4 separate regions of the Homo sapiens genome follow, and all the other regions are linked to region 1. The links are contacts of gene promoters, found by promoter capture Hi-C in blood cells and fetal thymus (Javierre and others, 2016). All regions are on one chromosome and are shown on one strand. The core of a region is centred on a gene start or on the middle of the fragment in contact, and the rest is flanking DNA. Distances in the headings are between cores, read along the strand shown. Region 1 holds the start of DNAJB12 (DnaJ heat shock protein family (Hsp40) member B12). Region 2 has its middle 19 kb from the start of LINC03139. Region 3 overlaps SPOCK2 (SPARC (osteonectin), cwcv and kazal like domains proteoglycan 2). Region 4 has its middle 52 kb from the start of SPOCK2.

Region 1 (6,876 bases), core at 1,770-4,269:
CTGACTCTGTGCCCAGGCTAGAGTGTAGTGGGGCAACCATGGCTCCCTGCAGCCTCGACCTCCCAGGCTCATAATCCTCCTGGGTAGCTGGGAGTACAGGCGCATGCCACCACACCTGGCTAATTTTTGTAATTTTTTTTAGTAGAGATAGGGTTTCACCATGTTGGCCAGGCTGGTCTTGAACTCCTGACCTCAGGTGATCCACCCACCTCACCCTCCCAAAGTGCTGAGATTACAGGTTTGAGCCACTGCGCCCAGCCACCTTTACTCTCTTGAATCCATTCCTGTTGGGTTTTCACCCCTACCACACACTAAAAGCCATTTTATGGTCAGGCACAGTGGCTCACACCTGTAATCCCAGCACTTTGGGAGGTTGAGGTGAGAGGATCACTTGAGCCTAGAAGTTTGAGACCAGCCTAGGCAACACAGTGAGACCCCATCTCTAAAAAAAAACTTAAAAAAAAAACTAGCCAGGTGTGGTGGAGCACTCCTGTAGTCCCAGCTATTCAGGAGGCGGAGGTGGGAGGATTGCTTGAGCCCAGAAAGTTGAGGCTGCAGTGAGCCATAACTGTGCCACTGCACTCCAGTCTGGGTAACAGTGAGACCCTGTCTCAAAAAAATAAAATGAAATAGATAAAAGCAATTTTGTCAAAGTCAACACTGCCCTCTACACTGCCAAATCCATTGGTCATTTCTCAGGCCTCACATTGCTTGGCCTCTCCACAGGATATGACGTTTGACCCCCCCTCCCTCCTTTTCTAAAAAAACTGTTTGTAGAGACCGTGAGGGGGGGCGGTCTCATTATGTTGCCCAGGCTGGTCTTGAACTCCTGGGCTAAAGCGAGCCTCCCACCTCAGCCTCCCCAAGTGCTGGGATTACAGGCATGAGCCACCATACCTGACCTACTCATTTCCTTACAACCTGCTTCTTCACATTCTCCTTTACTGGATTTTCTTCCTCTTCCAGATCTTTAAATGTTGGGATTTCGTGAGGCTCAGTAATCAGACTTCTCTGCTCTTCTCCATCTACACTCACTTCCTTGGTGCATATATATATATATATATATATATATATATATATATATATATATATATATATATATATATATCACAGCTCACTGCAGCCTTGACCTCCCATGCTCAAGTGATCCTCCCACCTCAGCCTCCTGAGTAGCTGGGACTACAGGCGTGTACTACCACACCCAGCTAATTTTTTATTTTTTTGTAGTGATGGGATCTCACTCTGTTGCCCAGGCTGGTCTCAAACTCCTTGCCTCAAGTGATCCTCCCACCCCTGGCCTCCCAAAATGTTGGGATTATAGGAGTGAGCCACTGTGCCTGGCCCCAAAGTTATATTTCCAGGTCCTTTTTGCCTAAACCCTACGTATGTACAACATCCTAGTCTGTATCTCTGCTTGATTCTAAAAAGCATCATAAACTGAATCAAACCCTTAATATTCCCCCACCAAACTGCTTTTGTAGTCTTTTCCATTTCCTTGTTTTAGTAAATAGAAATTCTCTTCTTCCAGTTATCAAGCCAAAAACATTGGAATCATCCTTGAATCTTCTTTCTCTCACAGCCCACATCCATTGCGTCATTCTGTCTTCAAAATATATCCAGAATTTTACTACTACTCACCACCTCCGCCATCACCCTTATCCAAGTTACCATTAATTTTCACCTGTATTATAATAGTAGCTTCCTGACTCTCATCCGGATTACTGTAGTAGCATCTTACCAAATCCTGCCTGAAAGGCCAAGCAATGTAAGGGCTGACAGATGACTCGGGGATTCGGCAACGTGGAGGTCACTGGCAACCTTCACAAGATTGCTTTCACTGGAGTGATAGCCCTCGAAGAACGGGATAATGATAGAACTGGATTACACTCTGTAGTAGAATCTTTTTTTTTTCTTCTTTTTTTTTAGATGGCGTTTCACTCTTGTTGCCCAGGCTGGAGTGCAATGGTGTGATCTTGGCTCACCGCAACCTCCACCTCCCAGGTTCAAGCGATTCTCCCGCCTCAGCCTCCCGAGTAGGTGGGATTACAGGCCATGTGCCACCATGCCCGGCTAATTTTGTATTTTTAGTAGAGACGGGGTTTCTCCATGTTGGTCAGGCTGGTCTCGAACTCCTGACCTCAAGTGATCCGCCCGCCTCGGCCTCTCAAAGTGCTGGGATTACAGGCGTGAGCCACCGCGCCCAGCCTGTAGTAGAATCTTTACGCTCCCTAGAATGTATTCGCCTTCCTGATCTGTTATAACTCACCAAGAGAATTCCCTTTTCAGAGCCTTTGCACTTGCTGTTCCTTCGGCCTGACCACCCTTCCTCCAGACAGTCACATCTACCTGTTATCGTTCCTGAATTCTGGTACCTGTTAATGACAGCTTCTGAGAGGTTTCTTTTATCGCGCTATTTAAAATAGCGCCTCCCACTCTCTATCCCTGTGTTTTCCATAATTTTTCTTCAGAGCTTTTATCACTATCTGAATCTATCTGGAGCTCCCCCAGCCTACACACACTGGAATGTAAGCTCCATGAGAGCAGGAGCTTTGTTTTGCTCACCCCTGTATCCCCATCATAAAACCATGCCTCACAAACAGTGGGCACTCAATATCTGTTCAGTGAATAAATAACCTTTGTCTGAAACGTATGTAGTTACATTACGTATATAGATCACCACTTAGTAAACCGTCTGGGAATAACAGGCACTCCGAAGGCCCCAGTCTCATCCCGACGGCTACCACGTGACCTTCCTGAGCTTGGGTTTCCTCCTCCGGAAGATTAGAGGGTTGGCGCATACTCAACTCTAAGACCTCCGGAACATGGAATCTGGGCGTGCACCATTATTGACACCTACACCAGCCGTCCCTTTCTTAGAAGACATACGGTAGCACTTCCACCCTCGCTCAAAACTCGGGAAAGGAGGGGCGGAGGGTGGATGTCATCACTCCGCGCCCGGCTGCCCGCGACGCGCCGGCGGGTGGCGCAGCCCTTCGCTCGCCCGGCCTCCCCCTCCCTGGTTCCGCGTTCTGGTTCCGCCATGGAATCCAACAAGGATGAAGCTGAGCGCTGTATCAGCATCGCCCTCAAGGCCATCCAGAGCAACCAGCCCGACCGGGCGCTCCGCTTCCTGGAGAAGGCACAGCGGCTGTATCCGACGCCGCGAGTTCGCGGTGAGTGTGAGGTGCCGGAGAGACTGGGGACATTAGAACTGATGGGGGGAACACGGGAACGGACCGACGGGAGCAGTTGGGGGAGGGGGAGGGGTGGCGAGGCGCGGCTACGCCTGCGCACTGAGGCGCGCGGTGGCTGCTGGGAGGCGTAGTTTTTCCCTCTTGTTCCTCTGCGGGATGCGAGCCGTCTGGAGACTCGGGCGGCCGGGACTTCAGCTTTCGGGGTGCTGGCGGAGCCCGCTGGGGTTTGAGGTCTCCGAGAATGAAACGCGCTGGCAGCCGGGACGAAGGGAACTTACCTGGAAGTGAACTCGAACTACTTTTCCCAAGGGGCCGTTCGGTAGCCCAGGCCAGTCGCCGGCCTGGGAAATATTACAGTTCAGGAAAATAAACATAACTCCTTTAAGGGAGAGAATGGGCGCTAGACAGGGAGACATTTCTGTTCTTCGGGCGCCAGGGAAAGGCGCTTCCGTATCTTCACTCCCTCTCACCTCTCGGGCTGAGGGTCAGGGACCACTCTCCCAAAATGCAAGCCGGCCTTTGCACCCACCCCAGTCCGCCGCCTCGGACTGTCCTGAAGCCGGGCCCCTCACTCCTCCCGATGATGAGATTCGGAGCGGGTGGCCTGGTGGGAGGTGCTGACCTCAGCCACCGCCAGTCCTCCATCGCCCGCAAGAGTCCAGCGGCGGTCAGCCATGTGGACGCCGAGGCTGCTGAGTTGCCCTGGACAGGAGCCTCCTGAGCCAGGGAGGGAAGAGTGAAGCTGGCTTTACAACTCATCACCTCGCTTCACCCGGGAACCCTTTCTTTTTTCTTTAACCTAAGTTTTCCAAGGAGTTTTTCTTAATCCACGCTAGAGGGGAGAGAGACACCGGGTGGTGCTTGTGATCACCACTCAGTAAACCGTCTGGGAATAACAGGCACTCCGAAGGGCCCAGTCTCATCCTGACGGCTACCACGTGACCTTCCTGAGCTTGGGTTTCCTCCTCGGGAAGATTAGAGGGTTGGCGCAGATAATGTGATTGGCAATAATACCCATAGGGCTTTGCAGTTTAGGAAGCTCCTTCACCTGTGCCTTCTCACTTGAGCCTGCCAGTCAGGGATGCAGAGCAAAGATCATTATCTTTATTCTATGGGTGAGGAAAATCTCTGAGGTAAGGGATGCCCAGGATGACACAGCTAGAAAGTAAAATGTTCTGTGACTCTGTAAATGTTTATGAAGGAAAAGAAATGAAATTGAGGAACAGCAGTCAGCCTCCTAACCGGCCCTGCCCGCCTGATGAGATTGAGAAAGCGGAACGCTGGTGGAAGAGGTAGCCTGGACTGCTGAACTTTCCTCCCTCCGGACTCTTGCAGGTTGATCTTTGGCCTGTTTGCCTCCCCTTGGAGAGGGTTTCGGGCTGTATTTGCCAGGACACCTGAGGTAACCTGCTCGAGGAGCCTCCCTGTGAATTAATTCATATTCTGTGGTGGGGTGGTATCCTCCAGCTGTCAGAATTCTGCCTGACACTGATGCTGCTGCGGGCTCAGGAGCAGGCAGCCAAGAAAGGATGGGCCACAGGGCCTCTGGGGATCTTTCTGTCAGCAGGCCCCTGCACCAGTTCAGGAGCTTGAAGGAGTGTCCTCTCTGGGGCTCAGGCTCTGGAATTTGCTGAGACAGAAGAACCACCTGCATGCATATTTGTCATATTTGTGCTTTTCTGGAAAGACTATGAGACTATACGCCTTATGCATCCGTGTAAACTTTACCATCTGCAGCCCTCCACTGAGCTGACAAAGACCTGGGATTAGTTTAGGTCTGGGACAGGGAAAGATCTTACTTCAAAAATAGAGGGCAGGGCTACCCACTGGGCTGGCTACCTGCCTCCCCAGGGGGAGTAATACAGATATATTAGGTGGCGGTCTATTGCTTTGGGTTTAGGCTCATCCCAGATGCTCATTCAATGCAGCAGACTTTTGTTGAAGATCATTTATGTTTTGTTTGCAAAGTCCTCTGCTTGGTGCTAGCAAGATTGGTAAAATGTGATCCCTCACCTCAAAAGAGCTTATAATCTAGTGAAAGAGACAAAACTTACAGAAACAAATATTACAAGACAGAACTGTAATTAAACAAAAAATAAACCCAAGGTTAGACGCTGAGGACTTAAGGACAGGCATGAAAAAATCAGGCCCCATCATCCATGGGTTCACAGTCTGATGGTGGGGAGGAGGTGCGGAGGACAATCTCCTGAACATTAAATTATCAGCAGTTTAGTGAGTGCTGTAGCAAGTGCATAAAAATAATGTTATCTCACAGTGAGGGAATGCTTTGGGGATGACAGGAGTTAACATTTGAATTGTGCTTTGGAGGACGGTGTGAGACTTGAGGAAAGGCATCCTGGAAGAAGACAAAGGAGCTGAAAGTTGTAACGTTTGGGGGAAGAGATCAAAGTGTAGCAAGATTTAGAGGCAGTGGAGGTGGTAATTCGTATACAGAGAGGATTAAGTTTGGGAAATAAAATGGGGCCAGATCATAGAAATCCTTTTCTACCAGGCCAAGATATTTTCACCTTATTCTGTAGTTAGTGAGGAAACCATTGAGGTTTTTGATAGCAGGAATAAAGTACGGGCACTGTTGTTAAAAGAGAACAGCATGAAAGGTTAATGAGAGGGAAGAGAGCTTCAGGGCAGGAAGCCAATAGGAGAGAATTGCCTTGAGCTGGTTGGATATTCTGAGGGCCTGGGACAAGGCAGTCATGGATAAGGCTAAGGTCCCTGGAAAAGAGGCACCAGGCCTGTGTGAGAGAGAGGTGCAGAGGAGAATCAGATGGGATGCTGGGGAATCAGAATTGAAGCCCCTGTGACCAGGAAGAAACCAGGCTGAAGAACTGAGATGGGAAGAGATGAGCAGAGTGGGAGGTGCCAGTGGGATAGTCCAAAGGAGCTGTCAGCCTGGAACTCAGGAGAGCGCTCCAGGTTACAGGTGAAAGTGTGGTATCGTCTGTTCCCTGGAGCTCACTGGAGTTGTGCATGGCTGAGGTCACTGTGGGAAAGTATAGACCATGGAGAGAAAGTTGCTGCAGGCACAATGGCAGGCAACACCTGCCCTGAGCCCACAGGCAAAGGCAGAGGAAGCAACAGATTGAGATGGAGCAACAGGAAAAGGCAGTCCCCGGAGAGGGCAGCGGCCAGGTAGCCATGGAGAGGTAATGGCAGCAGGTGGTGAGCAGCCCTGTGTGATGCCGCAGGCACTGCATGGGAAAAGGACAAGTTAAGAGTTGAAAAGGGAAGGATCGAGAGCATGGGCAGAGGATGGTCTTGGAGAGGTGGAAGGGCAGAGAGGGGAGAGTCACGAGAGAGGGGAGGCTCAGAGCAACCTTGAAAGGATGAGGGACCTCACACTGTTGGCCTTTGCAGCAAAAAGGGATGTGAGGGGGCTTGAAACTCCTGCTGCAGGAGGTGGGACAAGGAGGCACTGAGTTAAACTGCAAAGCAGTAGCTGGGCCCTAAGCTGGGAGGTCACAGACTAGAGATGGTGGAGCCAGTCAGTCCCTTTCTGGGAGTTTCTGTCCAGTAGCTGGCAGCCTGGTAAGCCATTGGCTTTGACTCAGGCTTTGTAACAAATGTGGAAGGTGCCAGATTTCCCAGGGAGCTCACGAGAGCATTTGTAGGCCTCAGTTTCCCCAGCATACAAAGAGAGGATTGGCTGGGATGATCCTGAGGT
Region 2 (7,534 bases), core at 1,864-4,363, 460 kb after region 1:
CCCCAGGCTGCACAGCTCATGGCTCCAAAAGAGACCCCTTCCCTCCTCTTGAGGAGAGGAGAGGGGAAGAGTGGGGAGGACTTTTGTCTTGCATCTTGACTACCAGCTCAGCCACAGCAGGATAGGGCACTAGTCAGAGACCCCACTTCCAGGCCCTAGCTCCCAGATGACATTTCTATACACACCCTTGGCAGGAAGAGAACCTGTTGCCTTGAAGGGAAGGAGCCAGTCCTGGCAGCATTCACCCCCTGCTGACTGAAGAGCCCTTGGGCCCTGAATAACCAGCAGCGATGCCCAGGAGCTATGTCAAGGGCCTCAGTGAGCCTCTGAGACTTGCTGGCTTCAGGTGAGACTCAGCACATTCCCAGCTGTGGTGGCTGTGGGGTGAGGCTCCTTCCACTTGAGCAAAGCAGAGTGAAAAGTAAAGGGGACTTTGTCTTACACTTTAGGAACCAGCACAGCCACAGAGGGGTAGAGTGCCAAGTGGACTCTTGGGGTCCCCAATTCCAGGACTTGACTCTTGGGTGGCATTTCTGGGCCTACCCTGGGCCAGAGAGGAGCCCACTGCCCTGAAGGGTGAGTCCCAGCCATGCAGCATTCACCACAAGCTGACTGAAGAGCTTTTGGGCCTTAAGGGAACTCTGGCAGAACTCCCTGTGGGCCTGTGGTGGTGGTGGCCACGGGGTGAGGCTCCTCTGCCTTTAGAAAGGGGAGGGAACAGCGGGTAGGGCTGTGTCTTGTGATTTGAGTGCCAGCTCAGCCACAGTACAATAGAACACCAGGTAGACTTGTAAGATTTTGGACTCTAGTCCCTGGCTTGCAGACAGCATCTTTGGACCTGCCTAGGGCCTGGGAGACCTCACTGCCCTGGAAGGAAGGACACAGGCCTGGCTGGCTTTGCCACCAGCTGATTGCAGAGCCCCAGGCCCTTGAACTGTCATAGGCAGTGGCCAGGGAGTGGTTACAGCAGGCCTTGGGCAAGACCCATTGCTGTCTTGGCTTTGGGTCTGCAGCACTGTCACAGTGCTGGTGGCCACAGGGGTGCTTGTGTCACTCTACCCCCAGCTTCAGGTGGCTCAGAACAGAGAGAGAGACTCCATTTATTTGAGAGAAAGTTAGGGAAGAGAACAAGAGTCTCTGCCTGGTAATCCAGAGAATTCGCCCAGATCTTGTCTGAGACCATCAAGGCAGTACCTCTATGAGTCTGCAAGAACCACAGTGTTACTGGGTGTGGGTGCCCCCTAAAGCAGATACAGCTTAGATCACAACACCCAAGTCCTTTCAATATCTGGAAAGTCTTCCTAAGAAGGACGGGTACAGCTGGGCGCGGTGGCTCACGCCTCTAATCCCAGCACTTTGGGAGGCTGGGGAGAGTGGATCACGAGTCCAGGAGTTCAAGACCAGCCTGGCCAAGATGGTGAAACCCCATCTCTACTAAAAATACAAAAATTAGCCAGGCGTGGTGGCAGGCGCCTGTAATCCTAGCTACTTGGGAGGCTAAGGCAGAGAATTGCTTGAACCCGGAAGGCAGAGGTTGCAGTGAGCCGAGATCGCACCACTGCACTCCAGCCTGGGTGACAAAGTGAGACTTGATCTCAAAAAAAAAAAAAAAAAAAAAAAAGACAACTAAGGCTAGACAATGAAGACTGCAATAAATACTGAACTCTTCAATGCCCAGACACCGAAGAACATCTGCTAGCAGCATGACCCAGGAAAACATGACCTCCCCAAATGAACCAAATTAGACACCAGGGACCAATCCTGGAGAAACAGAGCTCTGACCTTTCAGACAGAATTCTGTTTGAGGAAACTCAAAGAAATTCAAAATAACACAGAGAAGGAATTCAGAATTCTATCAGATACATTTAACAAAGGGATTGAAATAATTAAAAAACATCCAGAGCAGAATTTCTGGAGCTGAAAAATGCAATTGGCATACTGAAGAATGCATCAGAGTCCTTTAATAGCAGAATTGGGCTGGGCGCAGTGGCTCATGCCTGTAATCCCAGCACCTTGGGAGGCCGAGATGGGTGAATCACCTGAGGTCAGGAGTTGGAGACCAGCCTGGCCAACATGGTGAAACTCCGTCTCTACTAAAATTGCAAAAATTAGTTGGGCATGGTGGTGGGCACCTGTAATCCCAGCTGCTCGGGAGGCTGAGGCAAGAGAATCGCTTGAACCTGGGAGGTGGAGGTTGCAGTGAGCTGAGATCTGGCCACTGCATTCCAGCCTGGGCAAGAGAGTGAGACTAAACAACAAAAAGTTAAAAAGTTGCCAAGACAGTATTAAATTGAAACAAAAATCAAGAAGCTTTTAAAAACAAAGTTAAAAAGCAGGAGATGCTGGGCACCATGGCTCATGGCTGGAATGACAATACATTAGGGGGCCGAAATGAGAGGATCACTTGAGCTTGGGAGCTTGAGACCAGACTGGGCAACATGGTGAGATCCCCATCTCTACAAAAAAAAAAAAAAAAACCCCAAAAAACAAAAAAAACAAAAAAAACTTAGTCGGATGTGGTGGCACATGTTTGTAGTCTGTGGTGGAAGGTGAGCCATGATTGTGCCACTGCATGCACACCAGCCTGGGTAACAGACTGAGACTCTGTTTCAAAAAAAAAAAAAAAAAAATGCGAGGGGACTAAGTTAAGAGGTAGTTTTGTTTGTTTGTTTTGTTTTGAGACAGAGTCTTGCTCTGTCAGCCAGGCTGGAGAGCAGTGGCACAATCTCGGCTCACTACAATCTCGGCTCACTGCAACCTCTGTCTCCCAGGCTCAAGCTATTGTCCTCCCTCAGCCTCCTGAGTAGCTGGGATTACAGACACGTGCCACCATGCCCAGCTAAGTTTTGTATTTTTAGTATAGATGGGGATTCACCATGTTGTCCATGCTGGCCTCGAACTCCTGACCTCAAGTGATCTGCCTGCCTTGGCCTCTCAAAGTGCTGGGATTACAGGCATGAACCACCATGCCCAGCCAGGAATCACATTTCAACATGAGATTTGGAGGACAAACGTCCAAACCGTATCAACCTTTATGCTTCTTTTTGGCTTCCAGGAAAAACAAGACCCCTCTCTCAGGTGCCCTTAAAGAACCCCATCCTTTTTCACAGCATCTAACCAAACTTTGGTTTTTTGAGACTAAATTTTTTTTGTTCCCTCACCAAATTATAAGTCCCATGTGGGCAGGACCTGGGCCCCTTTTGCTTCTCACTGTGTCCTCAGTGACTAGGACAGTGCCTGGCACTTTGCAGGTGCTCAAACATCTTTTCTTGGTTACATGAAAGAGTGAATGGCTTTTTTGAGCACCTACTAGAGATTAAAAGTTTTATAGATGTCAAGTTTTCCTAAAGCCAAGCACAGTGGTGGCCCGGTTTGGCACTCAATAACTTACTGAGTCCTTGCCACCCAGGTCTGCGTTCTGTCTCTCTGGGTTTAGGGGTCTGGGATGTGGCCTTCCCTAGGGCTGCTATGAGTTGCTGTGGAGGCAGAGAAGACAAGGCTTAGCCTGCTAGCTGGAGCACTTCAGGCATCATTACTGTGGGCAGCTCTGTGAGGTCACTCCTGCCCCAATCCCTGGGCACCCGGCTGAGTGTGAGGCTTTGAGGACCAACCTAGAGATTAGGAACAGGGTTTTAGGCCAGGCATGGTGGCTCATGCCCATAATTCCAGCACTTTGAGAGACCAAGGTGAGAGGGTCACTTGACCCGAGGAGTCGGGGATCAGCCTGGGCAACATAGTGAGTCCCCTTAGCTACACTTAAATTTAAAAAAATAGAAAAGAAGGAACAGAAAATAGAAAAGAAGCAAATAGAAATAGAAAAGAAAAAGAAAAGCAAGTATAATAGAAATAGAAAAGAAGCAAATACTGTATTCTTCTGCCGTCTCATGGTCAGTCCTAGAATAGCAAGGGAAGCTTCCCCACCTCTCTGGTACTATACTGGGAGTGACCGCCAGAGGGCAGTGTTCTCCACATTGTTGCACCCAATAGGTGTCCCACCACACAAACCCAGCTCTTTAAAAAGTAGATTTTTTTCTTATCCAAAGTCGATTCATACAAAAAGAAAAAGAAATAAAAAATAAATTATTTTAATGGCTTCATTGCTACATGTTTGTTTTTTTGAAAAGGAGTCTTGCTCTGTCGCCCAGGCTGGAGTGCAGGGGGGTGATCTCCCCTCACTGCAACCTCCGCCCCCTGGTTTCAAGCGATTCTCCTGCCTCAGCCTCCGAGTAGCTGGGTTTACAGGCATGAGCCACCACGCCCGGCTAATTTTTGTATTTTTAGTAGAGACAGAGTTTCACCATGTTGGCCAGGCTGTTCTTGAACTCCTGACCTCAAGTGATCTGCCCACCTTGGCCTCCCAAAGTGCTGGGATTACAGGCGCGAGACACCGAGCCCAGCCCTCATCTCTATTTTAAATTATAAAAAAATTTTTAAAAGAATTATTGAGGACCCAGATATTTATTAATTTATCAAAAAGTAATAATGAACTCATTACATGTAAACATAAACATATTTTTACGAAAAATACCTTCATTTCCAAAACAAAGAGAAATTTAGTGAGAAAAACAGCATTGTTTTACACTTTTGCAAATCTCTCAAGCAACTGTCTTAATTAAAGACTGTTGGAGCCTCATGTCTACTTCTGCATTCAGTCTGTTGCAATATGTTGGGGCTTTTAAAATTTTTATTTATTTTTTTATTTTGAAACAAAGTTTTGCCCTTGTCGCCCAGCCTGGAGTGTAATGTTGTGATCTTGGCTCACTGCATCCTCCACCTCCCAGGTTCAGGTGATTCTCCTGCCTCAGCCTCCCGAGTAGCTGGGATTACAGGAGTGCGCCACCACATCCAGCTAATTTTTTTGTATTTTTAGTAGAGATGGGGTTTCACCATGTTGGCCAGTCTGGTCTTGAACGCCTGACCTCAGGTGACCCGCCCACCTCAGCCTCCCAAACTGCTGGGATTATAAGCATGAACCACTGCGTCCCGCAATATATTGTTTTGATTGAAGAAAATCCAGCCTCCCGCAAACACGGAGTTGGAAAAAAAGACGAGTATTTTGATAGCTTTTTCAGATAATTGTGAATATTCTTCTTTAATGCTACGCCAAAACTTAACAAGCAATTGTTTCTTTAAGGTTGATTATAATGTAGAATCTGAACCCATATCAATGAACATTTCATGCTTTATTATATTAAAATGCACGGGCCTATCTTGTACTTTTGTTTGTTTGTTTGTTTTGGAGAAGGACTCTCACTCTGTTGCCCAGGCTGGAGTGCAGTGGTACCATCTTGGCTTACTGCAACCTCCACCTCCTGGGTTCAAGTGAGTCTCCCACCTCAGACTCCTGAGTAGCTGGGATTTCAGACACATGCCACCATGCTTGGCTAATTTTTCTGTTTTTAGTAGAGCTAGGATTTCACCATGTTGGCCAGGCTGGTCTCGAACTCCTGACCTCAAGTGATCTGCCTGCCTCAGCCTCCCAAGGTGCTAGGATTGCAGGCATGAGCCACTGTGCCTGGCCTATCTTGTACCGTGAATGGCTGTTTTACCTACATGTGATGTGCAGCATCATGTGGCCTCTTTGAAATTTTGTACCCATTAAATCACATACATCTCCCAAAAGATGACATGTCACTGAACAGTGTCAAAAAATAGCATTTGTTAGCACTGCCATCCATCGCATCAGAAAAATCTTTAAATATTGAGAAGTTGTCAAGCTTGTGGTGGTGTACACAAATTTTCCAAAATTCTAATTTTCCCTTGAAAGCTCCAAGTTCCAACTTTATCATTGGCAACAAATGCTTCAGTTTCTTGAAGGGACAGGCTCACTTTGCTCATTTATGAGAAAATGTCTGTCTGCCAAATGCCCAGATCTGAATACCCATCATGTGTCTGTTCGTCGTTCTTTCCCGTATAAACAGTGTTCTCGGCTGGGCGCAGTGGCTCACGCCTGTAATCCCAGCACTTTGGGAGACAGAGGCAAGCAGATCACGAGGTCAGGAGTTCGAGACCAGCCTGACCAACATGGTGACACCCCCCATCTTTACTAAAAATACAAAAATTACCCAGCCTGGTGGTGTGTGCCTGTGATCCCAGCTACTCAGGAGGCTGAGGCAGGAGAATTGCTTGAACCCAGGAAGCGGAGGTTGCAGTGAGCCAAGATCGAGCCATTGCACTCCAGCCTGGGTGACAGAGCAAGACTCCATCTCAAAAATAAATAAATAAATAAATTAATTAATTAATTTAAAAAATAAGATAAACTGTGTTCCCTGGACCAGAGGCTCGCGTGGCTCCACCTCTGACAAGTTGTTTCTGCGAGCCAGTCCCCTGCTCTGGAGCAGGCGCTCTGTGTGCATCCCTGCTTCATCACACAGGAGATCAAAAGGGTATGTACTTAAGTGACACAGGCATATTTTGTCCCCACAAGTGCTTATCTAGGGGAGTGCACAGAGACCTGCCTAGTCTGTGGCCACTGCCTTGCTTCCTGAAGTTCCAGCAGTTTCACCCATAGTGGCTTTTTTTTTTTTTTTTTTTTTTGAGGCTGGAGTGCAACGGCACGATCACGGCTCACTGCAGCCTCTACCACCCGAGCACAAGTAATTCTCCCACCTAAGCCTCCCATGTAGCTGGGACTATAGATGCGTGCCACCATGCCCAGATAATTTTATTATTATTATTATTATTATTATTATTATTACTTGTAGAGACGGGGTCTTGCCATGTTGCCTAGGCTGGTCTGGGCAAACTCTGCGGCTCAAGCTATCTGCCCGCCTCACCCTCCCAAAGTGCTGGGATTACAGGTGCGAGCCGCTGCACCCTGCCCACAGTGGCTTTTATGTCACCAATGCCATCACAGTGAAAAGGCAATACTGTCTTAGGATTGTGAGGGAAGGGTCTTAGGACTCCGGGACTCAGTGGGCAGCTGCTCACATTGCATGGGAAGCATCACAGATACCCAGCCACCAACGCCGATGGTGGAGGATGCTGTTTTGGTGACCTGAACCTGGGAGAGAAGCCGCTATCAGTGCTGTGATTCTCTGAAATGGTTAAACTCTTGGCGAAGTTCCCTACAAAACAAAGTCCAATCTTCCATTCATTTGTGTTCTCAGAGTATGTTTTAAAATATGCAAAAAGGCTGGGTGCAGTGGCTCACACCTGTAATCTCAGCACTTTGGGAGGTCGAGCCAGGTGGATAACCTGAGGTCAGGAATTCAAGACCAGACTGGGCAACATGGTGAAACCCCGCCTGTACTGAATATACAAAAATTAGCTGGGCATGGTGGTGCACGCCTGTAGTTCCAGCTACTCGGGAGGCTGAGGCACGAGAATCACTTGAACCCTGGAAGAGAAGGTTGCAGCGAGCCGAGATTGTGCCACTGCACTCCAGCCTGGCAACAAAGTGGGACTCTGTCTCAAAAATAAAAAATAGGCTGGGTGCCTGTAATCTCAGCACTTTGGGAGGCCGAGGTGGGTGGATCACCTGAGGTCAGGAGTTCAAGACCAGCCTGACCAACATGGTGAAACCCCATCTCTA
Region 3 (7,583 bases), core at 4,932-7,431, 280 kb after region 1:
GGCCTTCTTCAGTGGACTGGCCTCCATCACAGGCCCCGTTGCCTGAGGAATGAGGCCAAAATAATGGCAGATACAGGGCCTCTCAGAGGCTGAGCCAGGCCTGGCCCACTTCCATTTTTAGAGATTCTTGATCTATTAAAAAATGAAGAAATGCCGTAACAGGGTTAGGGAAATTGTGGTGTATTCAGTCTTATGATGACTGTCTTCTTTCCGTCCTGTCGCTGTGCCTCTGGCTGTGTGTCCTCAAGTGGAGACAATGTCAGATGTCCATATTGAGACCCCTTGTAACACTGAGACCCTACAGAACCTCTGCCCAGTCCTGTCCCTAGGCTCCCCGGGTGTGTGCCAGAGAACCCGGGGTTCAGGTGTCCTGTCTTGTGTCTTTTGAAAGTATGGAGCTTCAGTTCACAAAGTCCCCTTGCAGACATGATTGCCTGGGTTCTTCTGCAGCTCAGAGGGGAAGGCAAGGGGGTCATCCTTATTTTACAGCCAAGGAAGCCAGTCCAGCAAGGGAAGCGACTCACTTGCTGGCAGTCAGTGGCAAGGCCAAGCAGGAGCCCAGGCCCCTGAGTCCTTGGTGGTGAGGGGTGTAGGGGGTGAGGTCTCTCTGTCACACTGTGCTGCAAAGAAGCAGGTGGATCTTGACCCCATAAGCCAGGGTCTGGAGGGCTGCTCTTCTTTGCTGATTCGCTGCTAGGTCCCAAGCTTCATACCAGATGGAGAAGCTGGGAGAGATTGGGTTAATTCAAGCTGTGAAGTGAGCGGGTGATTTGGGTGCTAATTAAAATGACAGGAAGTAAACAGCACTTGGAAACACCCAGCATGTGCCCCCTAAGCCTGACTAGGCCTGCGCACTCACTGCTGTCTCCCCCAGCTTGGCTCAGTGGGCACCGTCTCCATGGCAACTGAGCTGAGCTGCAGAGATCAAAGCTGAAGATGGGTTAGCTCCAAACCAGCTGAACCAGGGGTCATGTGAAGGGGTTTCTGAAAAATGCCTGGAGAACGGGGGCCCCCAGGTGTCTTCCCCTTCCACCACCAGACCCTCCTCTCCTGGCTGCAAAACTCCCTGCCTAGGACTTGAAGCAGAGTTGGTGTGGTAGGAGAAACCACCTGTGGGCTGGGATTGGGCCTCCTGGGACCCACCCCTGGCCTAGGACTTTTTTCATCAGCTAACATTTATGGAGTGCTGGTTAGGGGCACGGATTCTGGAATCACAGTTCTGGGTGCAGCACTCTTCTCCTGTGCAATTGCTGTGTGACCCTGCCTAAGTCACTTAACCTCTCTGAGCCTCAATTTTATCATCTGAGACATGGAGATAATAATAGTAATGTTTCTTAGAGCTGTTGTGAAGAGGAAACAAGCCAATGAATGTGAAGTGTTTAGCATAATGCTTGCCACGTGGTAATTGCTATAAAGATGTCAGCTATTGTTAGGAGTGTGTATTACTAGGTACTAGATGTTGGGCATAGAGAGAAGAAATTTACATGGTCTCTGCTCTCAAGGAACTGGCTATTTAACTAGGGCGGAGTGAGGCAGAGGCGACATTGCCTGGTGTCACTGGAACAATGGTAGACTTCTGTGAGGCACAGCTGGCCTGAAGGATAAGGAGTGGGGCTCGGGAAGATGATGGCTGAGCTGGGTTTTGGGAGATGAGTAGAAATTCTGGGGCTGATGTGAACTTGCATTCTGGATGGAGACAGCTGTGCTGGGGTTTGGCCATGCTGGAACCTTGCAGGAAGGACCTGGAGCTGGGGTAGCCAGGGAGAGATCAAGAGAAGATGGAATTTCTTCTGTAGGTGACTGGGAACCCGTGAAAGGCTTTCAAAATATAATACTTATTATATTTTTTATTATTTTTAAAATTTATTTTATTTTTATTATTTATTTCTTTATTTTTTTGAGACGGAGTCTCACTCTGTCGCCCAGGCTGGAGTGCAGTGGCGTGATCTTGGCTCACTACAAGCTCTGCCTACCGGGTTCACGCCATTCTCCTGTCTCAGCCTCCCGAGTAGCTGGGACTACAGGCGCCCGCCATCACACACGGCTATTTTTGTATTTTTAGTAGAGATGGGGTTTTACCGTGTTATCCAGGGTGCTCGATCTCCTGACCTCGTGATCCGCCCGCCTTGGCCTCCCAAAGTGCTGGGATTACAGGTGTGAGCCACCGCGCCTGGCCTATTATTTATATTTATTATGATTATGATTATGTTTTTTCTCTTTATTACAAAGTAATATATGTTCATTGCAGAAATTTTGGGGAAAGTTGGAGAAAAGCAGAAAGATGTCAGAATTCTCTGTATTCCTACCCAGCAGTGGAAATGACTGTTACCATTTTGGTATAAATCCTTTTCACCTACTCACTTTCTTTTTCCCCAAAATGAGATCAAACTGTATATTCAGTTTCAAAGAGAGAGAGACCGGGTCAGAATTGTGTTTTGGAAGGATCCGGGTGGCCGCAGCCGTGTGGAAGACAGTGGGAGGAGGGAGACCCTCAGGAGGCGCTGCAGTTTTTCGGGTTGGGGTGGTCCTGGCCGGTGGGTGTAGGGCAGGGAGGGCAAGCGAGAGGGATTCGGGAGGGGAAGGGGCAGGACAGTCTTTGGGTTGGTGAGGGTGGCACGGTAAGCGTGCTCCAGGAACGGGCCTGGAATTGGAAGCAGGAGCCTGGGTTCTCCCAGGGCCGGCCTGCTCCTCAGCACACCTTGTATCGCTTTGTGTGAGGCACCCTCGGAGGGAGGAAGAATGGCTGTTCTTTTTCATCCCAGAGGCCCCGTGTTTGGGGTGAAGACACCCAAGAACATAAGCAAAATATTAGACATAAGCACAGAGCGGGAGGGACCTGAGGCCTGATGGCTGGCCCAGTGGTCTCTAAGCTGCCTGCCTAGAGCCAGCACAGAAGCGTGGCCCGAGCTGGGTACCACCCATGGGATTTCAGGGGTCTCAGGTAGCATGTGCGTGCTGGAAGGTTTAAAAAGCTCCTTGGGGAAGGGCACAGTGGCTCATGCCTGTAACCCCAGTGCTTTGGGGAGCTGAGGGAGGAGGATCACTTGAGCCCAGGAGTTCGAGATCAGCCTGGGCAGCATATCAAGACCCTATCTCTATGAAAAAAACCACCACAATAAAAATTAGACAGGCATGGTGGCACATGCCTGTGCTCCCAGGTACTTGGAAGGCTGAGGTGGGAGGATCGCTTGAGCCTGGGAGTTCGGGGCTACAGTGAGCTATGATTGCACCACTGCACTCCTGCCTGGGTGACAGAGCAAGACTCTGTCTCAATAAATAAATAAAAATAAAGAGCTCCTCGGCTGATTCTAAGGTGCAGTCACCACTGAGGTCCTCAACAACGAGGAAGTGACTTCTTTGAGGACACACCGTGGGCCAGGCTGAAAGTGGACTCCTGGTCCAGTGCCCCTTCTATGTCCTCTCTCTGCCTCCTCCTCCTCAGTGCAGATGCTGGTCCTCTCTTAAGGAGAGAGACTCTAACTTGTGGGGTGGGAGGGGGCGATGGGGAACCCTGACTCAGCTCCTCTTTTGTCTTGCCATCTCTGGCCAGTTGCTCTGCCTCTCTGAGCCTTCGTTTTCTCCTTTCTTCTGGTGTTGATCCTATTGGCTCTGACTACTTCACAGGACTGTGAGGATAAAAGGCAGACCCATCCAAATGCCTGGAGAGAACTTACTCTAAAAGCACCATGCAGGCTGGGTGCAGTGGCTCACGCCTATAATCTCAGCACTGTAGGAGTCTAAGGCAGGAGGACTGCCTGAGCCCAGGAGTTCAAGACCAGCCTGGGCAACATGGCAAGACCCCATCTCTATTAAAACATTTTTTTAAATTAAAAGCTTTACTCATATAGATAGGTAGATAGATAAGCATATATAAGCACCATGCAATACAAGCCACGAGCTCTTCCAAATCCCCATTTTCCAGGTGAGGTCGGCAGCAGAGCCACCTGCCACCACTCTCAGGTGTAGAACGGGGCCTCTGTTTCCTGAGAAGCCCCAGGTGCCCTGATCAGACTATTTCTCACAACTGCTAATGAGCCCACTGGGGTGCCATAAATAGACACCCAACACTGCACTGAAAGGCATTATTTGCACTTGCCAACAAACACCTTTTTTTCAGCTTAAAGGTGGCGCCAGCCCACACCTGGCCTCAGGGACCCCTCAGTGTGTCCTTGAGTTTTACCCTCAGAGTGGCCACTCCCCAGCTGCCCAGAGGACTTCCTCGTCATTCCTCCCCACAAGACCTCCTAGGGGACTCTCCTCGTATCCCTTCTGGTCTCTGCTGTCCCCATGGTGGCCTCTCCCTCTCCACTTTTTTGGGGTTCCTCATGTGGCATCTCTGTCCCTCATTTTCCGCACTTGCAGTCCGGGGGTCTCTTCTCCATCATAGCAGCTTTGATTTGTTAAGTGCTTCCTGGACCCCAGGCACCCCGCAGGTGCCATCTGCTTTAATCTCTGAGTAGTCCTGGGAGATAGGCACTGAGCCCCTCGAGGTCGGGTGCTTGCCCAAGGTGCACTGGTCGGGGGAAGCCTGGGGATCTGCAGGACCCCAGGGCCCTGCTCTCCTCGTCCCTCTCTGGCTGGCTGCCTTTGCTTTCCTGGGAGTGAGGGTCCTGGAATCCAGATCCACTGGGGCCCCTCCATCCTGCCTGCCCAGCCTGGCCACAGCAGAGGCAAAAAGTCGAGGCTGGAACCGGGGGCAGTGCTTTGCACAGAAGGGGCTCCCTCCCTGCCAGCTGAGTCAGGAAGGGAGTGGGGGATGGTGGAGCAGCTGGGGAAAGCCCCTTTCTTAGAACTCCCACGCCATCCCCACTTTCCCCCAAATTTCTAATCATAAATTCTTGGTCTTGACCTTTGAGAATCCACTGTGTACTGAGTCCCAAAAATTCCACTCACGGCCTGGTTGGAGGTTAAGGCAGCAGGGTTGGGCCAGAAGGTGGGAGTGAGCCGGTGCCAGGGGCCTCAGATGACACCCAGGGGCTGGAGGCACCTTCCCTACTTCCACTCTGGGGCAGGTGGGTTATGGGCACACAGATCTTGTTGGTTGAGGGCAGGTATGGTTGAGGGCTCATACCTCCCTCCCAGAACCCAGCCATTTCCCATCACCTGCACAGCCTTGTCCCCACCCCTGCCCCAGGGGATGATGGGTACAGACGGGAAGACCCCAGCTGATGGAGACCAGTTGCCACTTTTGCCCCAACCCTTGTCATCATGGCCTCAGCAGCTGCACCTCTCTTGGCCTCCCTCCATCTCCTGTGGGGTGGACCCCCAGCAGAGGACCCCTGAACCCTGAGGAGCTCCTGGAGAAGGCTTCGTTGGTTTTAGCAAACGAGGGAAGTGGTGCCTGCAGCCTCCCCAGAGGCTTGCCTGGGGGCTCAGGAGCGCTCAGGTCAAGCCTGAGGGATGGGGTGAGTGCTGGGCCAGGTGCCCCACAGGCTCCCAGGAAGCACCCCTGCAGCCTTCCTCTGTCTGCTCCTGGGCCCAGGGGCTGCGGGACTCTTGGCTGCTAGGACAGGTACGTGTGGGCCAGGTGTGGGCCGAGCAGAGGGATGAGGAAGAGGCTCAATGAGAGACAGAGGAGAGAGGGACACAGGAACACACGGGGAGGCACGTGAAAGCAAGAGGAAGAAGGAGAGAGAGGGAGAGAGCCGCCGTGGGCTCTCACGGGAGCAGTCTGCGGTCCTCCCGCCCTCCCCATCCTTCCCGACTCCTGCTGCCTCCTTCTCTCACTGCGGAAGAGGCAGGAAGGCCAGCCTGAGGGAGAGCCTCGAGTGTGAAACTGGAGGCTGCTCACAGAGTGGGTTTTGTTACCTCGTTTCTGGATAAAAACCATCTGGCACTGGGTGAACAATGTCCTTGTTAGTGTCCTTGTTTTCCTTCTGTCACTACACATGTGTGTGCATATGTCCACCTGTGCATAAATGAGGATGTGCATACACACAAACATGCCTGCACACACATGCTACATAATACAGACCTGTGAGTGTGCATGGGTGCACCTGGGTCTGCATAAATGCACACACACATGCAGAAGCATGCACTCAGGTCTATGCCTGTGCACACCGCATCTTTCTCGGTGGTGATGCCAACTGCTTGCTCGGGTCTGGCCCCTTCGGCCTTTGTCCAGGAGGCCTCACCCTGCCTGCTCTGACGCTTGCCAGCTTCCAGGGGAGGCTTCAGAAGCCTGAAGGCCTTGGATTTCAAAGCCCTTTAGGCACCCTTCTGTGTGCCCACTGCTGCACGCATGTGGGTGCCGTTTGGTGCCATGGCCCCACCGCCCTTTTCCCCCAGACCTGACAGCTCTGCTCACCCCTACACATCTCTGCTCCTTTGGGCTATGGCAGAACTCAGGATGAAGGGGGCAGCTGCGCGTAGCTTCTCATGCCCCTCTCCCCCCAGCTCCCAGAGCCCCTCCTGGAGCCCCACGCAGAGGAAGTGGGCAGCTGGTCCTTGTCACTGCCAGCCTGCAGGCCTGGGAAGCCCCCTCCTTGCCTGCCTGGCAGAGTTTCCACCAGGAGTGCCCTGGGACTGTTAGGTGTTTTTTAGCAACTGTCTCTGCCCCGTAGGGGAAAGGGAGGAAGCCAGATAAGTTGAGTGTTCTTGCCAGGGAGCTGGGTCAGGTGGGAGGCTCTCTGCCTCTGGCCACTCTGCGGTCCACGGGCCTGAGAGGCCCCTGCAGCTGGAGCAGGGTGAGAAGGTCTCCCTTGTGCCTTAGGCCTCAGAGAGTGTGTTGTAGCAAGAAAAGTGGTCTGTGCTGGGCATCGGGAGACCTGGGTTGTGTGACGGGAGGACCTGGGTCAGGTCATCTGTCTCTGGGCTTTCTCCGGCACAAAGGGGGGGCTGGACCAGGTGACCTCGTAGGACCCTTTCTGGGTCCTCTGCCTCTGAGGGTTTGAAGCTGAATCGTGATAACTGGGCAAGCCTCATCACAGGCATGGCCTCCTCCCTCACTCCGTGTATGAGCTGAGCTCTGCAGAGATGTCAGACCTTGAGCAAAAAGCATCCCTTTGCAGACTGGGTGAGGGGGTCTTCCTCCCACCTCACTCACATGGTGGGCAGAGGTCAGGAGTGGGGACTGACAAGGAAGGGGCCTTGGCAGGAGACAGACAGTGCACCGTTTCTCAGGCAGTTTCTGAGACACCCAGGGCATAGGCATGAGAAGCTCTGTTCCTACGCAGCATGGGCACCTCGGACATCTGTCCTGGTGGTGGGGCTGGGGCTGGACTGGGAACGGAGTGGGGGTGCCCCACCCTCTCAAAGCCACGGGCCCCTGCTACTCCTAAGGCCAGTCTTGAGCTCTGTGATGAAGACGTAAGAATACTGGCCTCTTATTGGGGTTCCTGGGGGTCAGAGGAACACAGCCATCGAAGGCCATTGCTCGGCCACATGATGAGGCAGGGGACCCCAGGAACACCAGAGGGCCTCACACTGATATCCCCATCTTTCTCCCTTTCTCTTCCTGCTCCGTTTTCCATGGCCTGCTGCTGTTCCCTGATCTCCAGGAAGTGGAGGTGAGTACTGCCCAGGACCCCACTCTGTGTGGTCTCTGCAGAGCACACCCCCTCCCCTCCTGTGTCCCTCCACAC
Region 4 (7,865 bases), core at 113-2,612, 320 kb after region 1:
AGCTAAAAAAAAGGAGTGCACATGGACCCACAGAGGGGAATGAAGGACACTGCAGACTCGGGAGGGTGGGAGAGAGTGAGGGGTGAGGCATTACTCAATGGGTACAATGTAAACTATTCAGGAGATGGTTGCACTAAAACCCCAGACTTCACCTTATGCATGGAACAAAACTGCACCTGTACCTCTTATATTTATACAATTTTTTTTTAAAGAGAGAAACTAAGGCCTGAAGTATGAGGGAGCAGCAAGTGTTCCAGGCGAAGGGGACACCTTCATTACCCTGCCTGGGTGGTGAGAGATGTCATGGGGTCATCTCCAGCCCCAGCTGTCCAGCCTTGGGTCAGATAGGCATCTCCCGAGATGGGGGCCTGGCCCTCCCCAAGGCCCCTGGGTGCACCTTGCTGCAGGTGCCATCTCCACAGCTGCCAGTCATCCCTTGGCAGGAAAGTGTGGGCGGTTGGCCTGCTCCTCCTGGTTTTCCATCCTCTCTGTCCTCCTAGTCTTTCCTGGCCTCCTCACCGCCACCCCGCCCTGTAATTTCCCTGTCTGCCATGGGAGCTTATTTGGGACATACCCAGGAATGGTTTCACATAAGGCAAGAACAGGGTTCTCAGTGCTCACCCTGAGTCAGGGCGGCCACCCATCCACCACCACCACTTCCCTGCAGAGGCCTGTGCCATGGAGGTGTGGCTGGCAGAGCCCTGACCCTACGGCGGGGGGCTCGGACCTTGTCCTGGCATGCTTCAGCTCACTGGGTGACCCTGGGTACATCACTGACCCTCTCTGGACTTTTCCAAACTAACTCCACACAGTTCAACTGAGGAGAACTTAGAATCCCATGAGAATCTCAGGTGGCGAGAAGCCCGGCATCATCCCAGGGCACAGAGGGGGAAACTGAGGCTGTACCACAACACGTGAGACATCAGAGATGGCATCAGGGGTGCAGGCACTCAGTCCGGCGTCACGGTTCAGAAGCTTTCCAGTGTGGGGACAGGAAGCCAGGCCTAGACAGTGGAAGACTTGTCCCTGTTCTAGTCCCATCTCTGACCCCCACTGGCCGTGAGGCCTGGCCACACAAGACCCTCAGAACCTAGGTTTCTCCATCTGTAAAACGGCGTTAAAGCTTTTTTTCTCCCAGGGTTGCTGTGAAGTTAAAATGCAATAAGCAATGTTAAAGGGTCTTGTAGGGAGCATCTCCTGGGTAAGAGTCCTCACTCTCTACAGGACGAGGCCCCAGTCTCAGCCCTGCCCAAGCCTCTGAGAATACAAACCTCATGCGACTCAGGGACAGCTCAGAGGCACAGCTGTGGAAGACACCTCCTCCTGGGTGGCCGGGAGGAAGTCGAGAGGGGCGCTGTGACAGGGACGTACCTTCTTCAAAGGCTACTATGGGACAGTGGCTGACTACAGATAGGGAAGCCTTGAAACCTCAGCTCCCTTCTCTATAAATACAGATGCACATATTAGCAATTTACCAAGTGAGAAGCTGCTTGGCTTACTATTTGACTGCTTTTTATCTGCGAGGGCGGCATGAGGCAGATGTGCGCGCCTCCATTTTGCAGATGAGGACTGAGTGACAGAGGAGCCCAGTGCCAAGCTTGAGCCCCAACCTGCCATTCTCCAGGCGGGGATGGATGGGCTCCAGAGACTGGGTGGGACCAGGGAGGTCTGAAAGCCTGGGGACAGGGTCTAGCCTCCAACTCTGAAAAATCACATTAGGTCACCAGGGGACAGGGTGCTCTGAGGAGACAAAAACAAGGCCAAACCACTTCCCGGCCGGGTGCTGGAAGTCAACACCAACTCTTTTTGCTCTATAAATAAATTTCATATTTAAATAAATATGGAACAACGTGACCTTTTTTTTTCCTTCTGCAAAAGAAAAGAGCATTTATCCCACCTCCAGAAGCTCATTTCTTCTTTCCAGCTCCTCTGACATCACCCAGGGGCAGCCAGGGAGGAATTTTTTCTTCTGGGATGACTCGATCCCAGCATCAGGCACATCTGGGCGGCGCCTGCTCCACAAGCCACAGACAGGCCCTGTGCCCACGATTCTGCTACAAGTCGTTGTTCAGAACTCAGAGCGGATTTTCCCGTGGAAGCAATATTGCTAGGTGACCGTGATAACCATGACACCATGGACACTCACTTGGAAGCAATCTTGCGTGTGGGTGTTTGGTTCCCAGGCTAGACCAGCAGCCCATTTTGGAGGCAGGAGGGAAAGACAAGGGCTTTGGGGTCAGGTGTGTCCTGGCTGTGTGACCTTTAGAAGTGACTCAACTTCTGAGCGCCTCCCTTCCCCAGTCTGTTGACGCTGGGAGATCGTTCTCCAGGGCCCCTTGCATTCCTGCTTGTCTTGTGACAGCTTTTGTTCTGGATTATCTTTTCAAGGACGTTTGTGTAGTCAACAGCCTAGGAAGTGTACACAGAGTAGCTGAGACAAGTCCCAATCAATTTAGAAAATTTATTTTGCCACGGTTAAGGATGCGTCCTCAGGAGGTCCTGAGGACACATGCCCAAGGTAGTCGGGGCACAGCTTGGTTTTATACATTTTAGGAAAACATGAGACATCAGTCAATGTATGTAAGATGTATATTGGCTGAGTCTGGAAAGGTGGGACAACTCAAAGCAAGGAGGGGGCTTCCAGGTCATAGGGTGGATAAGAGACAAAAGGTTGCATTCTTTTGAGTTTCTGATTAGCTTTTCACTGAATACCCAATTTACAGGAATAGCTACTTGTGCCGTAGTCTGGCTTAGTGAAACAATAGGGCAGAGGAAATAATCAGACCTGCATTTGTCTCCTGTGAGCAGAGGGATGACTCTGAACTCTGTCTGTCCTTTGTCCACAAGGAATTTCCTTGTAGGCAAATTGTGAGGGAGGACAAGGAATTTCCTTGTAGGCAAATTGTGAGGGAGGTATGTAGCTTTGTCTTGGGAGGCAGGTTTGCACTACTCAGTTCCCAGGTTAAGGACCTGCTTGACTTAGTTCCCAGCTTGATTCTTCCCTTTGGCTTAGCGATTTTGGCGTCTCCCTCCAGGGAAGAGGGAAGATTTATTTGTTTGCTTTCCAGGGGAATAAAAACAATGCTTCCCATCAGGGCAAAGATTGGGCAAGTTTGCTGGAAGCCCCCTCCTAAGACTGGGAGTTTTCCAGGTTTGGGGTTCTTCAGCTAAACCCACTGAACATGGGCCCACCTCCAAATCTGCCCCACGAGACAAGGGGAACCAAGGCGAACATGAACTCCTGTTGCCTGTTGTGTTTGAGCAATAAAGCCCTTTGTCTGGGTCCCAGGAGTCTTGCGTCTTCTGCCAGCATCCATGAAACCATGGCAGGCTACCTTGCTAGCCTAAAAGCAGGGTGAAACTCAGACCCTGCAGTTCTTGACGGTCAATTCCATGCTTATAATACTCACCTTGTTGCTGTGAGGGAGATGCCGGGCCGTGCCTTGCCCTTGGTGGGTGGTTAATAAAAGGTGACTGTGGCAGTTTTACTATCAGTGGCCAGGAAGTTAGTTATTTACAAGCCACACAGGATTCCCACTCTGAGTGCCAGTGGTACAACCTGGCCCTAGCCCTGGGATTAGAAATTCCATTCCTTTTGTGGGGTCTGGGCGCCTGGATAGGCTCGCTGCGCCTGGGGGAAGGGCTCCGGAGGGTGAAAATCCTCCTTGGTCACCCCTTCAGCCCCTTCGGGTAACCGCTATAACCCATGTAAAATATATCTTTCTAGACCTTTCCCTGCACATCAGTATGTTTAGAGAATGTATAGCAGTTTGTTTTCATATAAATTATTTATACTGTATGTGTTGTTTTGCAATTTTCATTTTTCACTTAAAAATATTTCAGCCGGGCGCAGTGGCTCACGCTTGTAATCCCAGCACTTTGGGAGGCTGAGGCGGGCGGATCACGAGGTCAGGAGATCGAGACCATCCTGGCTAACATGGTGAAACCCCGTCTCTACTAAAAACACAAAAAAATTAGCCAGGTATGGTGGTGGGCACCTGTAGTCCCAGCTACTTGGGAGGCTGAGGCAGGAGAATGGCATGAACCCGGGAGGTGGAGCTTGCAGTGAGCCGAGATCGTGCCACTGCACTCCAGCCTGAGCCACAGAGTGAGACTCTGCCTCAAAAACAAAAAAACAAAACAAAACAAAAAATTCCTGGACACCTTTCTCTGTCAGCCCACCTAGCTTCTGACTGCTGCATACCTTTCATAATAGGACTCTCCAGCCATGTGTCTGCCCCTCCCCTCGTGGTGGACCTTTGGTTCTTTCCATTTCTCATCAGTTCAAAAATGCGCATTGCGTGGCCAGGCACGGTGGCTCACGCCTGTCATCCCAGCGCTTTGGGAGGCCGAGGCGGGTGGATCACCTGAAATTAGGAGTTCAAGACCAGCCTGGACAACATGGTGAAACCCCATCCCTACTGAAAAAACAAAAATTAGCCAGGCGTGGTGGCTTGCGCCTGTAATCCCAGCTACTTGGGAGGTTGAGGCATGAGAATCGCTTGAACCTGGGAGGCAGAGGTTGCAGTCAGCCAAGATTGCACCACTGCACCCCAGCCTGGGCCACAGAGCAAGATTCTGTCTCAAAAAAAAAAAAAAAAAAAAAGAAAGAAAAGAAATGCACATTGTGTGTGTTGGAAAAGCCTCCCTGGATGCACAGGGCAGGGCTTCCCCGGGGCAGAAGCGAAGACTTCACTTGCACGCTACAGCCTTGGAAATGGAGGCCCGAGGGGCTGTAATGTCCCAAGGTGAGGTCACACCAGGCGTCTCAGCCCCTCCTTTCAGGCCCTAGAGCCTGGTGTCCCCCTCCTTCCTCTCCACTGGGAGTCTCTGCCCTGAAAGAGGAGGGGAGGGACTAGGAGATCAGGCTGGGGAAAGGAGGGAAGGGGTGACTAGGTAACAGGGGGCTTCTCCCTGTGATGCTAGCAGACCCAGTGGGGACAACTGGGGAGGCAGCACAGAGACCCCTGAGGAGCTACCACACTGGAGGGGAAATACAGCCACCAAGGGCCACTGGGCCCCAGGTCTCCTGAGAACCCTCTCCTGGGTGTCCTGCTTTGGAAAAAGGCTCTGTCCAGAGTGACACTGACTCAGAAGCTATCAGGTAGGGGCCCAGACCCTTTGAGCTCAGCCTAGAACCCTGCATCCGCCAGCCCTAGGTCCTCTCAGGCTGCTGCCCCGTCACATGTTCTTACAGTACAGATACTGCACAGCAGATCCGTCAGGTCAGCCAACGAACGCTCAGGGCCGGAGGAAGAGGCCAGCTGAGCCTGTGCAGCCCACCCCTTTTCACAGCAGACCAGGTGACAGAAACGCCAACTCGGGTCCCCGAGAGCTCCTGCCATGCTTTGTGCTGGGCCTGCTGGGGACATCCACGGAAGGCACAGCTAGCTGAGGTTAAACTGGCAGGAGGATTTAGAAACTTCTAGGTGACATCACACAATAACAAGCAGAACAGACCTAACTAAAGGTTAACTAACCAACCACTGACTGGGAGCTTGAAACATGCCACATACTGTATCGAGCTGGCTCCCATCTCTCCTGCACTGGGAGGTCAGTGTTATGACAATCCCCCTTCTACAGACCAGGAAACAGGCTCGGAAGGGCACAGAACTTAGTCCAGTCCTGCAGGGGATAAGTAACGTGCCTGGGACTCAAACCCAGGCCTGTCTGACACTGACCTTCTGCTACTAAATGGTTTATAACCTTTGGAGTATCCTGGACCTCTATGAGATTTTTTTTTTTTTTTGAGACAGAGTCTCACTATGTTACCCAGGCGGAGTGCAGTGGTGCGATCACAGCTCACTGCAACCTCTGCCTCCCCGGCTCAAGTGATTCTGAGGCACAAGAGTACAGCTCTGGAGTAGCTGGGTTTACAGGCATGTGCCACCACACAGGGCTAATTTTTGTATTTTTAGAAGAGATGGGGTCTTGTCATGTTGGCCAGGCTGGTCTCAAACTCCTGACCTCAAGTGATCCGCCCACCTCAGCCTCCCAGAGGGCTGAGATTATGGGTGTTAGCCACTGTGCTGCCACCCTTTGAGATTCTAATGGAAGCCTGGAGCCCTTTAACCAGAAAAGTGCCTTGGTGTAAACACAACATGTGTGTGCAGGGCCTGCTTCCTGGGCATATGGCCTGGGCAGTTGCACAGGACCCCAAATTCACAAAAGCCCCATTTTTGGTTTAATGCTCTGCTGTTGCCATCATGAAATGCTTAATGCTTTTGTACAAGGGGTGCCACATTTTCATTTTGCCCCGGGCCCTGCAACTTCTGTAGTCTGTCCTGCATATGCGACACTGACACACACATGTCCACATGCACCACCACTTTGCAAATGACTTTAGGTGTGCAGGAATCCTATAGGCCATTATAGACTCAGGAGATACCCTTTCGCTTTGCCCTGCACCCTGGCAAGCTGTGCACACGTGCATGTGTGTGTGGAGGAAACTGTCAGGTGGATCTGAGTGTGGGCAGGGAGCTGGGCCAGCAAGCAGGGGAGGGGGCGGCAAGGCCAGCATCGACTTCCACACAGACCGTGACAGCAACTCCTACGCCTCCGGGAGAGGGAACCAGTCCTGGTAATAAATAGCCCATATCCTCAATCCATGTCCTTAAAAATCTGTCCCCTTCTTGGACAGGACAAGGGGCCTTTGTCAGGCATGGTGGCCTCAGAATAAACACAGGAAGGCGACCAGTGGCGGATGATCGGGCTGCTGTCTGGGGCAGAGTTTTCTAAGTCAGGCTTGGCATTTCACTCAGAATGCTCCTGCCTGTGGCCAACTGGAGGGATCCCTGTGCCCACGCCTGAAAGCAAGAATGTCCAGGCCGGGCAACGGGGCACAGAGATGGTTACACAAGCCTCTGAGGACAGAGAGAGCACCCTGAGCCTCTGCAGTCGGGAAGCGGCAGCTGGTGTGGGAAGGGGCTTTATACAATCTTCCCTTGATCTGTGTGATCTTGGGCAAGTGGCTTAATGTCTCCATGACTCAGTTTCCTATCTGTAAAATGCAGGTGATCATGATACCTACCCCAGGATTTTTGTGAATGTTGAATTATTGTCTAATGTCCTTCCAACAAAGCACAATAAATAATAGCTGTATTTATCATTATCATTATTATTATTTGAAACTAGGTTAGAGGACCAGGCTTCAACATAGCTGTGCTTTTAGTTTCACTGTTTGTTCATGTTATTTTTTAAAATCAGTTAAAGCCCCATGTGAGAGATCATATGCGGGGAGTGGGGAGGATTCACCAACAAAGGTTGGAGAATTAATACGGGGATGAAAAGCACCCAGGGAGAGACACAGGGCTGGTGTGTGTGTGTGTGGGGGGGGGGGTCATCCCATGACACAAGAGTCTGGAGTGCCTGGGAGGGAACGGGCCAGAGTCTAAGGCTAGGCTCTCTTCAGGGGAAAGGTTTGGAAAAGGAGCATTTCTTTTCTTTCCTTTTTCTTTTTATTATTATTTTTTTGAGACAGGTCTGTCATCCAGGCTGGAGTGCAGTGGCACGATCACAGATCACTGCATCCTCGCCCTTCTGGGCTCAAGCGATCCTCCTGCCTCAGCCTCCTGGGTACCTGGGACTACAGGTTCATGCCACCACTCCCAGCTAATACATTTTTTAATTTCTTTGTAGAAATGGGGTCTTGCTATGTTGCTAGGGCTGGTCTCAAACTCCTGGGCTCCAACTATCCTTCTACTTTGACCTCCCAAAGTGCCAATGTTACAGGAAAGGGGTCCCCACCCCATGTCCCAAGAGAGGGTTCTTGGATCTCGTGCAAGAAAGAATTCAGGGCAAGTCTGCGGTGCAGTGAAAGCAGGTTTATTAAGAAAGTAAAGGAATAAAAGAATGGCTACTCCATA

What was found. Contacts are between HindIII fragments. The CHiCAGO score rates a contact against its expected background, and 5 or more counts as called.
Region 2: a contact is called between a fragment that was not itself captured here and the fragment with the promoter of DNAJB12 in region 1, in 1 of 17 cell types (total B cells). The highest score is 6.5, in total B cells.
Region 3: a fragment that was not itself captured here is called in contact with the fragment with the promoter of DNAJB12 in region 1 in 2 of 17 cell types (naive CD8 T cells and activated CD4 T cells); the score reaches 5.9 in naive CD8 T cells.
Region 4: a contact is called between a fragment that was not itself captured here and the fragment with the promoter of DNAJB12 in region 1, in 1 of 17 cell types (non-activated CD4 T cells). The highest score is 5.4, in non-activated CD4 T cells.

Annotation. Positions count from the first base shown.
Region 1 is chr10:72,351,062-72,357,937 of GRCh38, reverse strand. It overlaps DNAJB12 (DnaJ heat shock protein family (Hsp40) member B12), which reads left to right and starts at 3,019. Exons shown (of 9, transcript NM_017626.7): 1 at 3,019-3,173. The coding sequence starts at 3,041. RefSeq lists enhancers at 2,793-3,042, 3,433-3,562. The HindIII fragment of the contact is 22,726 bases long and covers 1-6,876 here.
Region 2 is chr10:71,892,987-71,900,520 of GRCh38, reverse strand. No RefSeq gene overlaps it. Among named protein-coding and RNA genes, the nearest start is that of LINC03139, 19 kb to the right of the region's middle. The HindIII fragment of the contact is 1,602 bases long and covers 2,313-3,914 here.
Region 3 is chr10:72,072,827-72,080,409 of GRCh38, reverse strand. It overlaps SPOCK2 (SPARC (osteonectin), cwcv and kazal like domains proteoglycan 2), which reads left to right. Exons shown (of 11, transcript NM_001244950.2): 2 at 7,500-7,508. Among named protein-coding and RNA genes, the nearest start is that of SPOCK2, 12 kb to the left of the region's middle. The HindIII fragment of the contact is 4,690 bases long and covers 3,837-7,583 here.
Region 4 is chr10:72,033,059-72,040,923 of GRCh38, reverse strand. No RefSeq gene overlaps it. Among named protein-coding and RNA genes, the nearest start is that of SPOCK2, 52 kb to the left of the region's middle. The HindIII fragment of the contact is 474 bases long and covers 1,126-1,599 here.